4 separate regions of the Homo sapiens genome follow, and all the other regions are linked to region 1. The links are contacts of gene promoters, found by promoter capture Hi-C in blood cells and fetal thymus (Javierre and others, 2016). All regions are on one chromosome and are shown on one strand. The core of a region is centred on a gene start or on the middle of the fragment in contact, and the rest is flanking DNA. Distances in the headings are between cores, read along the strand shown. Region 1 holds the start of ASB7 (ankyrin repeat and SOCS box containing 7). Region 2 overlaps LRRC28 (leucine rich repeat containing 28). Region 3 overlaps TARS3 (threonyl-tRNA synthetase 3). Region 4 overlaps TM2D3 (TM2 domain containing 3).

The links. The method cuts DNA at HindIII sites, captures the fragments that hold promoters and counts their contacts. A CHiCAGO score of 5 or more calls a contact.
Region 2: a contact is called between a fragment that was not itself captured here and the fragment with the promoter of ASB7 in region 1, in 2 of 17 cell types (fetal thymus and total B cells). The highest score is 6.1, in fetal thymus.
Region 3: a fragment that was not itself captured here is called in contact with the fragment with the promoter of ASB7 in region 1 in 2 of 17 cell types (total B cells and fetal thymus); the score reaches 7.0 in total B cells.
Region 4: a fragment that was not itself captured here is called in contact with the fragment with the promoter of ASB7 in region 1 in 3 of 17 cell types (erythroblasts, fetal thymus and naive B cells); the score reaches 7.3 in erythroblasts.

Annotation. Positions count from the first base shown.
Region 1 is chr15:100,601,084-100,604,452 of GRCh38, forward strand. ASB7 (ankyrin repeat and SOCS box containing 7) reads left to right here and starts at 1,506. Exons shown (of 6, transcript NM_198243.3): 1 at 1,506-1,963; 2 at 2,132-2,230. LINS1 (lines homolog 1) reads right to left here and starts at 1,101. Exons shown (of 7, transcript NM_001040616.3): 1 at 1,038-1,101. RefSeq lists an enhancer at 1,019-1,358 and silencers at 1,529-1,788, 2,239-2,288. The HindIII fragment of the contact is 6,685 bases long and covers 1-3,369 here.
Region 2 is chr15:99,266,358-99,269,726 of GRCh38, forward strand. The region is part of intron 2 of LRRC28 (leucine rich repeat containing 28); the gene reads left to right. Among named protein-coding and RNA genes, the nearest start is that of LRRC28, 17 kb to the left of the region's middle. The HindIII fragment of the contact is 176 bases long and covers 1,428-1,603 here.
Region 3 is chr15:101,719,701-101,723,069 of GRCh38, forward strand. TARS3 (threonyl-tRNA synthetase 3) reads right to left here. Exons shown (of 19, transcript NM_152334.3): 3 at 1,426-1,622. Among named protein-coding and RNA genes, the nearest start is that of TARS3, 3.1 kb to the right of the region's middle. The HindIII fragment of the contact is 156 bases long and covers 1,582-1,737 here.
Region 4 is chr15:101,648,929-101,652,297 of GRCh38, forward strand. TM2D3 (TM2 domain containing 3) reads right to left here. Exons shown (of 6, transcript NM_078474.3): 1 at 3,343-3,369; 2 at 2,768-2,845; 3 at 1,076-1,233. Among named protein-coding and RNA genes, the nearest start is that of TM2D3, 1.8 kb to the right of the region's middle. RefSeq lists a silencer at 3,041-3,369. The HindIII fragment of the contact is 1,735 bases long and covers 1,253-2,987 here.

The DNA of each region.
Region 1 (3,369 bases), core at 256-2,755:
AATTCTCTCTGCTGGCAAAATTCTCTCCCTAGATCTTGGCATGGCTGGCTCTTTGTCATTCAGATCCCTGCTCAAATGTCACTTCCTCAGAGACCTTTCCTATCTGTCTTAGTCCGTTTCCTGTTGCTTATAAAATAATTCCTAAAACTCGGTAATTTATAAAGAAAAGTAATTTATTGTCTAGTTTTGGAGGCTGGGAAGTCTAAGACTGACGGACCACGAGACAGCACCGCAAAGTATCACGTGGCCAGGGGGCTGAGCAGGCTCACGAGTTGTCAAGTCTCTCCTTAAAAAGCCACCAGTTCTACCTCCGTGATAACCCATTAATCCATGAATAGATCAATCCACTCGTGAAGACAGAACCCTCACGGTCCAACCACCTCTTAAAGACTCTACCTCTCAGTACTGCCACATTGGGGATTAAATTTCAACATGAGTTTTGAAGGGGACAGATATTCACACCATAGCACTACCTATCTAATACAGCCCATCACGTCCTGGTCAAAATCGATTCCACCATTCTGCTTGATTTTCCTCATATAACCCATCCCTATCTGATAATTTTGTGTTTGTTTCCCCGAAATCACTATCTTGTTCACTGTTGTCTCCCCAGGGACTAGAACAGTGGCCAGTAAACACTTGCTAATGAATAAAGTGCTTAACAAACGTGTCTTGATCAGTCTATCTCGCGTTTTCCCCACGACCCCTCTCCATTCATTCACAGGAACCCGCCAACGTTGCTATCCTTTCAGGAAGGTCCTTGGATCGTCATCGCTATCCCAAAGAGAGTCCGTTCTCCCACTTCAGGCGAGGCATTGCCAGCCTGGAAGCTAACGGGGTCTCAAGGACCGACAGCCGCGCCAAGACCGGGCACTTGCGTCTGACAAGCGCTGAACAGGGGCGGAGAAACAAGGCACCCCTCTACTCGCTTCCTGGAGCCTGCCGCCCTCCCAACCTTAAGCCCTGAACCAGGCTCTCATTTGGCCGCACTCGTGCCTCCCCTGCTGCCAGCACGGCGGCCGGTCCCGGTTACCTGCCTGGGATCTGGCTCAGGCGAACTCTCTTCACACCGCCATTTGAGGGAACACAAATGCCCGCTCTGGGCCACCGTAGTTCACAGAAAGTACAAGCTGGCACCTCCTCCCGCATGCGCAGAGACCGCCTTCGGCGAATAGTGTCTCTTAGCAACGGCTTTGAGTCCCTCCGCCAGGGGCGGAGCCTCGGAAGCCACCACGGGGAAGCTGTAAGGGGAAGTGAGTGAGACCAATCGGAGACGAATCTCTGCCCCGTTCGGCACGCCTCCCTTAACTGTCGCGAATGCAAAGGCAACTTTACGGCAGGCAGAGGGTGGGGGCTGCCGGGGGTAAGGAGGAGAGAAGGAAGCAACCAACCAACCAAGTCGTCCCTACTCCCTCCACCCCCACCCATCCCGGACCTGGTTTACGGCTCCAGGCTCAGGCTCCACTGCGGGCGCTGATTGGTTGTTGAAGGCTTGGTCCCATCCCAGTGACCCCAAAGTGCTGAAGGGAGGGGGCGGGGGTGGCCCAGTGCAAAGTGCATCCCGAAAGCCCCCTGTCCGGAGACCCCACGGCTGGCACTTCGGGCCCCGTATGACCTGGGACCTCGCCGTCCCGAGACCTCCTGGGTCCCTCCGTAGCTGGAAGCCTCCGGCCCGGAGCGCGGCAGCCCCCTGCTCCGAGCCCTGGACCGGGACTGCCCCCCCACCCGAGCCAGGACTTCCTCCCTGCCTCCCTGCACCTCTGCCCCAAGGCTGCCCGGCGGCCGGGATCGCCACCTCCTGCCTTCTCGGCTGTTCGGATGTTCGCCGGGCTGGGGCCGTGAGGCACCGAGGAGGATCAGGAACACCAGGGTCCGGCCCTGCCTGGGGTATTTCTTCAATGGAGAAGTTGGTGAGTGTAGAGGAGGCTGAAAGGAGGAAGAGAAGCAGCAGCTGAGGAGACAGGTAAAGTCCTTTACTTCCCCCGAGGGGAAGAGTGCTGGCTGGGAGGGTAGGAGGGAGGAAAATCTCTGCTTTTTCTTGCCTGCCCTTGCCACTCTCCAGCCCCTTTCCTGAGCTCCCCCCTCCCCACCTCTGAGACACTACACCACTCACTGGTTTCTGTTTTTCTAGGTTTGAGCTGGCTGAAGAAGACGCGAAAGCAGGAAGAGGTCTGCCCACCTATCAGAGAAGCAGAAGGCACAGTGCCTCTGACCAGCATCGTCTGTAAAGGTAATGAGCCAGCCCTCCCCTCCCCCGTTGTTTATTCCTGGCCCCTACCTCATTAAGCAGTGGTTTATTTTCAGGGTGGTTGCCTGGGAATGCAACCTTTCCTACCCCCCCCACCCCCACCCCCAGTTTCCCAGGAAAAACAAAAACATTACCCGTGCCTGATACTTAACATTTTATAACTTCTCTACCCAGGACAGTATTTTCCCACTTTCTTTCTGTACAGTGTGTTTCTGTGTTTTTCATTATCTTTTGGTACACTGTGCCATTTACTCTGCTCTGAGGCTTTGAGACCTTTTTGTAGCTACCCTCCCTTCCTTACTCTCATAGGAATTCCTCAATTCCTTGTTAATTGCTTGTTAATTCTGAATGACTTTCCTTTTTAATTAAACCACAATTTACTGTTTTCCCCCTTACTCTTTCCTATCACCTTTCTTCTACCTGCATCAGAAAAATCTTTTGAGTTATCTAACTGACAACGATTTGGTAGAGAAAGGTAAATTATTGGCCTGAGATTTATGAGTTTCAGAAAATAGTTTGATTTTATTTCCTACTAGAAAGCCAACCTGTGTACCTTAAGAGTGTGAATGGTATGAAGACAACATTATTACCCTGAAGCACTTAGGCATAATTAACTCTTTGGGCTTTCTGTGTGTTTGTGTGTGACAAATGTGGATGGGCTTTGAAACTTATAAAGATACAATGTTTCTTACACCTCAGATTTTCTAGGAGAACTTTTAAAAATTTGCACAATATCTTATTAATCGTTTGACTCAGGAATTTAAAAACAAAGGAACCTTTTGGTGTGTTTACATATCTGGGTCTTAATTTTAGCACTCTATAAAAAAGATTTCTCATTTTAAAACTTTTACGTAGAGTTTGCTGGATTGAAATTTAAGCATCTAATTCATGTGATCACATTTCTGCTGCCATATTTTGTTGCTGCTTCTGAAAATGCTCTGAAAGTAAACTTAGGACATTAGTGTAATTCCTAAAGGGGGGATATAAGCATGGAAATTATACAAGGTTTAATTCCAAAATTAGCCAAATGGATGACTTTTTTAACATCCAGTAGCAAAAGTATAAAGTGACTTGTTAATCTGAGTTATTTTAATATCCCAAATTGTTTAGGGAATTTTTGT
Region 2 (3,369 bases), core at 266-2,765, 1.3 Mb before region 1:
AAAGATGAACACCTAGCCAGGCATCGAGGCATACCAGCTACTTGGCTGAGATGAGAGGATCATGTGAGCCCAGGAGTTTGAGACCAGCCTGGGCAACATAGTGAGACCTTGTCTAAAAAAAAAAAAATTAACACCTAGTGTTAAGGATAATTAATACCCAGTGTTGGAGACAGTTAGGAGAAGATACTGTCACATACTCCTAATGGAAATTAATGTTTTTGTTGAGTTGTTGGGCCATATCTAGCAAAACTACATGGATATGTGTTTGAATCGGCATTTTCACTTGCAAGAATCTACCCAATAGAAAAGTCTGGTGAACAAGAGTGTTTATCACAAAATTGAATATGATGAAAAATTGTTAAAACCTCGATATTCATCAATAATGGATTTGTTAAAATATGATAGCAGCTAGCACTGTTTGAGTCTTTACCAAGTGCTCAAACAGTTTTACGCAAATGACATGTATTATTTAATCCTCAGGACAATCCTGTGATGTAGGCACTATTATGATCCTTATTTTATAGACAAATAAACTAAGTCATAAAATGTACATCAAACTGAATAATGATTAAAGTTGGAGATGGATGGAGAGTATGAGGGTAGGGGTGGAGGCTGAAAGAAACAGCCTTACTTAAGTGTTTATAGGACAAGGGAAAACTCTACTAGTAAGTTTGGTTTATATTACTTTCAGTAAATATTTATTTTTATAATTTGGAGTCAGTTAAAATAAGATGGTTAGAATATAGTGCCACTAAGTTTTTATCAAGCTTTCTAATCAGCTAGTCTAAATATTTTGATTTACAGCGATGCATATGTTTATGCCATATTGACATAGATGACTCTCTTAGCCGGTGGTTAGGTGAGGGTGAGAGAGGTTGATGGCTAGGAAAGTCACACAACTATATCCGCCACCCCCTCCTTGAATTTGGTAGTAGTAGGATCTGGATCAAATAAGGATCAGAACACCCTGAGGGGAAAAACAGTAAGTTAAGGAGATGGCCTAAAAGAGCATCATACAGCCAAGTGCGGTAGGAGAAACCGGGAGCGGGAATTAAGTTTTGTTATTAGTTTGGTTCATTTTGAATTCCAGAGCAAGGACTTCTTGTTTTTCTCCAGTCTGTTGGATCCTTGCAGCTTGAACTGCTGCTAGGGTGCAGGGCCTCCATAATCGCCATGATTGCACTGTTCTTGAGCTAGCTCTGTATAAAAGCATCTCTGTTTCTTAAATTGACTATGTGGAAATATGTGAGTATATCAAATAGTAAAGCATTCTAATGGTCCGTTAGTGTTTTAGTGTTTGTAAGTAAATGTGGTACAGTTCTGGAAAACAGCCATTGCACATTTATCCTGTCTTCATAATACACATGTGCCTGAAAATTAAGTTTTGTTACAACAGCTTCTTTTCCTGTTGAATTTTCAGATTTAGAAGCTTTTCTGTCATTGTTACTGATTCCTTGTCAGTAATGTGAAACGGTGATTCCTTGTCAAATAATTAAGAAACTCAAGCCTCTCACATGTCATAATGACTTTCATTTTTCAGGAAAATGAACGTCTGTTCCATAACTTAACTCTATTTATGGAGTCATAGGATTTTAAAGCTAGAAGCTTTATTTATAATTTAGACAATTTTTCTTTTTGAGGAAACTAAGAAGAGGATAATGGCTGGTTCTAAAGTCACTTTTCAGTGCAAAAATAAGGTCTCCTAATTTGTGGTCCAGTTAGTTTTGCTTCATTTTAATTCTGTAGATATTTATTGATAACCTCTTCCTAGCCTAGCACCACCATGTCGTTAAAATTTAACCACGTTTATCGACTGTGGAGAAATGAAGTGCTGCATGTTAAGTGAATTTTCCCAGTTAATTTTTGTAAAGTCTGTGTCTGAGTTTTCCTGTGAATAAAAGTCTAGCTTAATAGAAATATTTTTAAACATGTATCATTCTTTGCTTTTTAAATGAAATGTAGGGAACCTGACTTAGCATATACCCTGTAATTTGTAGTTTCTGCCTAGGGAGTTAGGAGGGGGACAGTTTAGAAAGAGGTGGCAGGGCTAGGGGTCTTTTCTTAGAACAGACCATTATCTTGTGTACTCGAAGGGTGTTATTTGCAAGCAAAAGACTCAAAACCATTGGTGTATGTATGTTTCCACAAGTTTAAATTCATTTTTCAGGCATTCACTTTAATGAGGCACCTGTGTACTGGAAGTGAGACACCAGTGCCTAACTGTTAGTCCCATCGAATCAGTCAACAAATACATACGTTATGTAAGTAAGGCACTTGTACACGGATCTTGGAACATGCTCCCCACCCCACCCCCGCAAAACCAAACAGTTATGTCATAAACTTACAGAATTGTTCAAGCTAGGTGTAATCTTAAATCATTGATCTGGCTTAATGGGAATGTGTTTGGTATTCTATTTTTGTGTGTATTTTTATATTGCTTTGAAAATTGCATTTATAAAATCATACTTATGGCATGTTTATTAAATAGGTTTTTTTAAAAATAAAAAGCTGGAGAAGACACTTGATGCTTGTAACCTCCAACCCTTGTTTCCGACATTTACATAACTTAAAGTTTTAACAAATATTAAGATAAACACTTCAAGAGGCATTTCAGCAATTTTTAATGCCTGTTTTTTCTTTTGAAAAATCTTTTCTTGGCAATCAAATTTCTATCAAATTCAGAAACATTGTATTTTTGTAAATGTACTGGATGTATAGTTTTTTTTATTTTGAGCTCATTCTGTAAGTTTTTGCTAAGTTAAAAATATCAGTCTTGATGTTTGTTTTACATTTTTTGCCAGAAAACATTTGTAGATTTGAAGATACTTAAAATATTTTCATTTACATTTCTTAAGATGACAATTTTAATTTCTACAAATGCTAAGCAAATACTTTCATTTATTTCTAAGAAAAATAATCTAAAACATTTATCATTCTTACAGTTAAGTAGTTATTCTTCATGTTTTACATTTGAAAGAGCTGAGTTTAAGTGAAAAATCAGTAGTGAATATGAAGGTATGAATTCTGCACACTTTACCAGCCACATGTGCTGTTAACTTTTTTTTTTTTTGGAGACAGAGTTTTCACCCAGGCTGGAGTGCAGTGGCACGAACTCAGCTTACTGCAACCTCTGCCTCTCAGGTTCAAGTGATTCTCCTGCCTCATCCTCCCGAGTAGCTGGGATTACAGGCACCCGCCATCACGCCCAGCTAATTTTTGTGTTTTTAGTAGAGACGGGTTTCACCATGTTGGCCGGGCTGGTCTTGAATTCCTGACCTCAGGTAATCCACCTCCCTCAGCCTCCCAAAGTGTTAGGATTACAGGTGTGAGCTACCATGCCTGGCCTTAACATTTAAATTAAAGTAAAAT
Region 3 (3,369 bases), core at 410-2,909, 1.1 Mb after region 1:
GCAGGCAGGCCCATGCAAGGACCCAGCTTCCACCGCTAGACACAAAGAAACCCTACCTAGGAGACAGCAGATCAACAAGATGGGAGGAAGCTGGGTCCATAAATAACTGCATGGACCAGAGATGTCCACTAGGCTTGACTGGTCACTTCTAGACGGTTAGCTTGCATTAGAAGCCCCTGGAGAGCTCATAAAAACACTGATGGCTGATCAATTCAGGGGGTTTGAGGTGGGATCCCCAAATTTGCTTTTCTAACAAGTTTCCAGGTGATGCCCATGCTGCTGGTCTGGGGACTACACTTTGAGAAATACTGACCCAACACATTTAACATGCAACCTGACTCTCCATGAGAAAACAAACTTATTCTTGCCTCAAAACCTGTTTTCTCCTAGCACATCATTCCTCCTGGAAAACATGAAAACAGGCTGGGAGAGCATTTAACAATATAATAGGATGAATCAGAAATACAATCTTAGCCATAGTTTTCAAAGAAAATCTGAGAATTTCAGTTGTTGAAACAGTTTGCTTTTTAAATGATGAACATTTATTTACATGGCATTAATACAATTGTATAGAAGCTATATAATTGTATTTATACAATAGCTTCTATACAATTGTATTTAATGCTAAGAATTAACATGAGTCAAAACAATATAAGTTCACTAATGTATCTAATTTCTAGAAAAGTCAAAGCACTTTTCCAAGACTGATAATAGCTCTAAAACATTTATCTTCAATCTATACTTAAAAGACCTGTAAAAACTCATGGAAATTACTTGATTGACGAATAAAGTCAGTGTAAAATGGCCTATCAAGAATTACAGATTTTTTTCTCTCCTATATATTTTTATTAGAACAGGAAATGATTGTGTTCTGATATTCAACTACTTATTTACATGGCCCTTGGAGAAGCCAGAGGAAAAAAATTAAATACATTTAATTTATTCAACTGAATAAAAAAAAAATTAGCTGATATGGTTTGGCTGTGTGCCCATCCAAACCTCATCTTGAACTCTAGTTCCCATAATCCCCACGTTTTGTGGAAGGGACCCAGTGGGAGGTAACTGAATCACAGGGGCTGTTACCTCCATGCTGTTCTTTGATAGTGAGTGCATTCTCATGAGATCTGATGGTTTTATAAGGGGTTTTCCCCCCACTTTGCTCTGCACTTCTCCTTGCCGCTGCCATGTGAAGAAGGACATGCTTGCTTCCCCTTCTGCCACGACTGTAAGTTTCCTGAAGCCTCCCCAGCCCTGCGGAACTGTGAGTCAATTAAATCTTCTTCCTTTATAAATAACCCAGTCTCAGACATGTCCTTTTAGTATCGTGAGAATGGAGTAATATATTAGCGGTCCCTAAGAAAACATTTTCACCAGGCTTCAGTATAATTACTTAAGATTGAATATCTTTTCCACACTGCGGTTTACCTAATTTCAGCAGCCACTTGGTAAGGCGTTGTTTTCCAGACTTCCCCTTGCACTGTTTGCCCATCAGCCACTCTTACTGTGATGATGTTGCTTGTATCCCCCTTTTTTCCATAAATGGCAAGTAAGAGCTGATGGTCTTTCTTCAGTATTTCAAAAAGCTTCAATCTTTCTTTTATGAAAATTGGTTGATGCTTCACCTGGAAATTATTAGAACATAATGAGATTAATATATACAGCCTACTGTTTTCCAGCTGCTCAGCTCTGAATCAGGCTCACCCCCTTACTGCCTTCTCAGTTCTACAGATGGTCCCAAGCTTACCATGGTTTGAATTACGATTTTGTTGTTGTTGTTGTTTTTTGGTTTGTTGTTGTTGTTGCTGTTGTTTTGAGATGGAGTCTTGCTTTGTCGCCCAGGCTGGAGTGCAGGGGCACGAAATCAGCTCACTGCAGCCTCTGTCTCCTAGGTTCAAGCGATTTTCCTGCCTCGGCCACCCGAGTAGCTGGGATTACAGGCACGCACCACCCTGCCAGACTAATTTTTGTATTTGTAGTAGAGATGGGGTTTCGCCATGTTGGCCAGGCTGGTCTCGAACTCCTGACCTCAAATGATTTACCTGCCTTGGCCTCCCAAAATGCTGGGATTACAGGCGTGAGTCACCGTATCCAGCCGCAATTTTTCAACTTTAGTGATGTGAAAGTCATATGCATTCAGTAGAAACTGTACTTTGAGTATCCATACAACCATTGTGTTTTTCACTCAGTACAGTATTCAATAAATTACATGAGATATTCAACACTTCATAATAAAATAGGCTTTATGTTAGAGGATTTTGCCCAACTGTAAGCTAATCTAAGTGTTCTGAGCACTTTTAATGTAGGCTAGGCTAAACTACGATGATCACTAGCTTACGTGTATTAAATACATTTTTAACTCACATTGGTTTTATTGGGACATAACCCAACTGTAAGACTAAGAGCATGTGTACTTCCCACCTCCAAAAGGCTCCTCTCTGCCTATCTAACTTCTCCTTAGCTCTAAAGGTCCACCTCAAAGCCTGCCTCCTCTACCTATTTTACCCGCTGGCATCTCCCTTTTTTTTTTTTTTTTCCTTTGAGACAGCCCCACGCCCAGCCCCCATGACACCTCCCTTTTCTACTGTTTACAGAACGTGTACAGAGTCACACATTACAGCACTTACTTGTATACCATCGTACTCTGTTCTCTAGTTGTTTGTCCTGAGTCTGCCTGAATTCCTCAACCAGACTAACTTCTTTGGGCCTAGGTATTCCTTCTTCACTCCTACCAAATGTTGATGCTAGATAAATACTTACTGATTGTTTTAATGCTTTATATACAAAAGCAAAGTAGCTAGTTTCTCGAATACAAAAAAAAAAAAAAGACCGGGGGCGGTGGCTCACGCCTGTAATCCCAGCACTTTGGGAAGCCAAGGTGGGCGGATCATGAGGTCAGGAGATCGAGATCCTCCTGGCTAACACGGTGAAACCCCATCTCTACTAAAAAAAAAAAAAAAAAAAAAAAAAAATTAGCCGGGCTTGGTGGCATGCACCTGTAGTCCCAGCTACTCAGGAGGCTGAGGCAGGAGAATCGCTTGAACCTGGGAGGTGGAGGCTGCAGTAACCGAGATCATGCCATTGCACTCTAGCCTGGGCAACAAGAGCAAACCTCCGCCTTCAAAAAACAAAAAAAAACCAACCAAACAAAAAAAACCAACTCTAGTACTCTAGTAGCACAACTTAAATAGATTAAATACACGTGTTTATTAAACATGGGCAGCTCATTTCTCAAGACATCTCATATTTAAGGCTTGAAAAGTTTTAAATACACTAATGTGACCCAAATAATAATTTAATCAGTAATTTTTATTGGAAATCCTAGGTAATTAACTATATACACATATTTAAAATTACAGGTAGTATTTTATA
Region 4 (3,369 bases), core at 870-3,369, 1.0 Mb after region 1:
AAGTTTAACAGATATGGCAAATCGCCTACAAGAGGTTGATCAATTTGATTACCTATTAATAAGATATGAGCATCTGACCCTTATACTCTCACAAACTCAGAGTTAATCAAATTAAAAAAAAATTGCCAATCTAAGGGTTAAAAATGTATTAATTAAATACTATGAGAAAACTTATATGTTTTTCATGTTATATATCTATTTGTATTTCCTTTCCTATGAACCATCTGCTCATGTCCTAACACTGTTTTTCTACAAGACTGTCATCTTTTCCGTGTGGGTTTTAGGAAGTGTTTATATATTACTGATATTACTGTATTATTTGTCACATATTCTAGAAACGCTTTTTCCTAGTTTGCCATGTCTTTTGCCTTTATGCTTTTTTTTTTAGGTCATGCAGAAATCTCCAATTTTTAGGAGTCAAATGTATCAATTCTTTATTTTATGGCTTCTAAACTTTATTTCATACTTAGAAAAATATTCTCCATTTTGGGATTATAACAGCAACTATCTGGTGTTTTCTGTGGTACTTCAGGGTTTCATTTTTCACATTACATCTTTGGACTATCTGGAATTTATTCTGGATAAGACAGGCGTTCCACTTAATTTTGTTCTAGAGAGCTACCAGGCATTCCGGCATTTACTGAATCCATCTTCTCACCACAGATAAGCACTGGCCCTTCAAAAGCTCATCTATGGCAGAAAGACACTGCCACCCCCTCTGTACACTAGCTGTCACTATTGAGAACACAGAATCCATCTGAACGAATTAGACTTGCTTCAGATATGCTAGTAGACTGAGATCTTCTCCAGTCCTACAAAGCAACATTTCTGTCAAGTGCATTTCCAGCAGACATCAACTGGCTTGACAGTTATCATTATAACTAAAACAGTAGTGAGCTGATATGGAAAGGTCTATTGGGTTTTTTAATTTATTTCTGCTTACATACTCAAAAGGGAAATCATAAAAGAATATAAAAATTCTTCAGAATTTCTTCCCAATAATCAAGTCTGAATTGTTCTTCTAACTTAAAGTTTACAATGAATTTATTTAGAATAAGTAAGCTGCAGTACTTACAACACAGGTAACAGATGGTTTCACTGCACAGTCAAAAGTGACAGGCTTCCCATAGGTACAGGAGAAATTTGTTGTGCAGTCTATACAGTCTGCAGGAAGCCTGCTACACAAACCATTGCTCGGACACTTCATCACATAAGGTGGGATTTCAGTACTTTCTGTGAGAGGCAAGAGAGAAGCTTATTCTCCTATAATACTGATTCGAATAACAGAGAACAATCTTCTAAGGTTAAGAGACGTGATCATTAGCAAGTAGACACTGCACTGGAAGGGAAGAAGCATGGGACTGGAGTCAGAGACACCTGCAATTAAAGCAGAATTCTGCCCACGGCCAGCTGTGGGACCTGGTGAGCACCACACTTGTAAAACATTACTTCATTCCTGCCTCCCACGTGGCCGTGAAAACTAAAGGTGCTCATATACAAATAATGTATAGAAAATTCTGGGTATACATTAAGGGCTTAAAAAAAAGACTATCATTTTGTAAGTTGAAAAAAAACTTACAGTAGGGTTTTGCAAAATCACAGAGGAAGTCTGTGGCAAAACTGGAACTAGAACCCAAATCTCTCCATTTCCAATCCCGTGTTCTTTTCATCTGAATTCACTAATTCAGAAATGAAGCCACTGACATCCTCAGGGCATCAACTTTAAAATGTCATTATTTCACACTGGTACTTCGATAAGCCACATTTGCTAATATAATATTTACAGTTTTACGCTACCAAAGTTCAAAACAGTTCTCTACTTTAATAACATCTTCAGTAAGCTGCAACTTATTTCCAACCAACCTAATGAGTGTGCAATGTATTTTTACCAACTGAAAGGATCAAAATTGCAAGTATTCCTGAAAAGAAGGGCTTTCAAAAGCCTGCAAGAGTTAAGAACTCTTGTGCTTTCTCTAAAAAGTAATCTGAGTTTAAAATTCAAGTGCACTGCTGTTTTTTACATCCAAATAAGAATCAGTAAAATATCTCTGCCAGTTTCAATTCACTGAAGTAATGTCACTTTAAAGTGATGAAATTATAGTCAGAGCCTCCACCTAGCAAAACACACTAATGCTTGTTTAAAACTGGTCCTACTTTACTCACTGTATTAAGGAACAATTCTACAAAATACTCTTTTTGATCCCGTGACTATGTGGCTGGAAGGTGGACACTTAGAATCACAAAGCAGAAATGACTTTAGGTCGTCAGACCAACCCCACCGCTTTAAAGATGAGGACCAAGGTCCAAAGAGGATAAATAATTTGTTCAAGATCCCAGTAGCAAAACCAGATCTAGATTTCAAGTCTCCATCAGTCCCGCTGTAATCCTTCCATTTCCACAGTCCTGAGGGAGCCTTTAATATTCCAACATCAGGAACAGGGTTTTAGCAGTAGAGGAAATTTGCTGAAGGGAAAGAAGCACGGACTGAAGGTTATTTTGATGGATGAAGTGGAAAAATAATAGAAATAAGGTGACAAATGAGCGTGGGATTGGAAAAAGAGAGGAGGCAGAAACGTCAAAAGGTATAAATACGAAGACTATCTACTGAAAATGGCTGTGTATCTACCCTTAATTCACATAATCTAAAATACAATAAATATTCAAAAATGGAAAGTGACTTCGTATACTAAAGGGAATTTTTATAAAAACAAAGAGAAACTACTAGAGATAACTACATGTATTTACTAGAATAGAAAACGTCTAGTACCTGCTGCCCTGGGAACTACTGTGAATGTGCGTGTTGGGCCCGGATCCTTTATTGACTGAGCCAGCGCCTGCGATTGCTCTAAATTTAAGGATCGTACAATTAGAGAAACACGTTATCCCGGGACAAGAAAACCTTATTTTGTGTGGTTAACACGGCGGGTCTACACCAGGCCAATAAGCTGCTCATGAAAACCTCACGGCTGGTCAGCCAGAAAACACAAAGCTTAGGGACGAAACGTCAACAGAGTAGACATCAGTTCAGGTCAGCCGGCAACGAGGGACCGAAGGATGACATCGCGCTCCAGTTCCGCCTCCCCGGCCCAGCCCCCAAGCGCTCCATCTCCGTGCCAGGGCTCCGCAGCCGCGATGGCGGGCTCGGTGTCGCCGGAGCGGAGGGGCGGCCTCGGGCCGGGCGGCCAGGGCGCCAGACTCCAGATGCAGCGACAAGCGGCCCGGAGCCCGGCACTCGGCCTCCTCCCCGCGTCAGCGTCCGCCCGTGGGCCCGGCCTCCTCGCAGCTCCCGGGGCCCTGCTGCCACTCAGCCCCACCCGGCGCTGAACCCAGCCTTTGACTCACCACCGCCCGACAGAATGCAGAACTGCG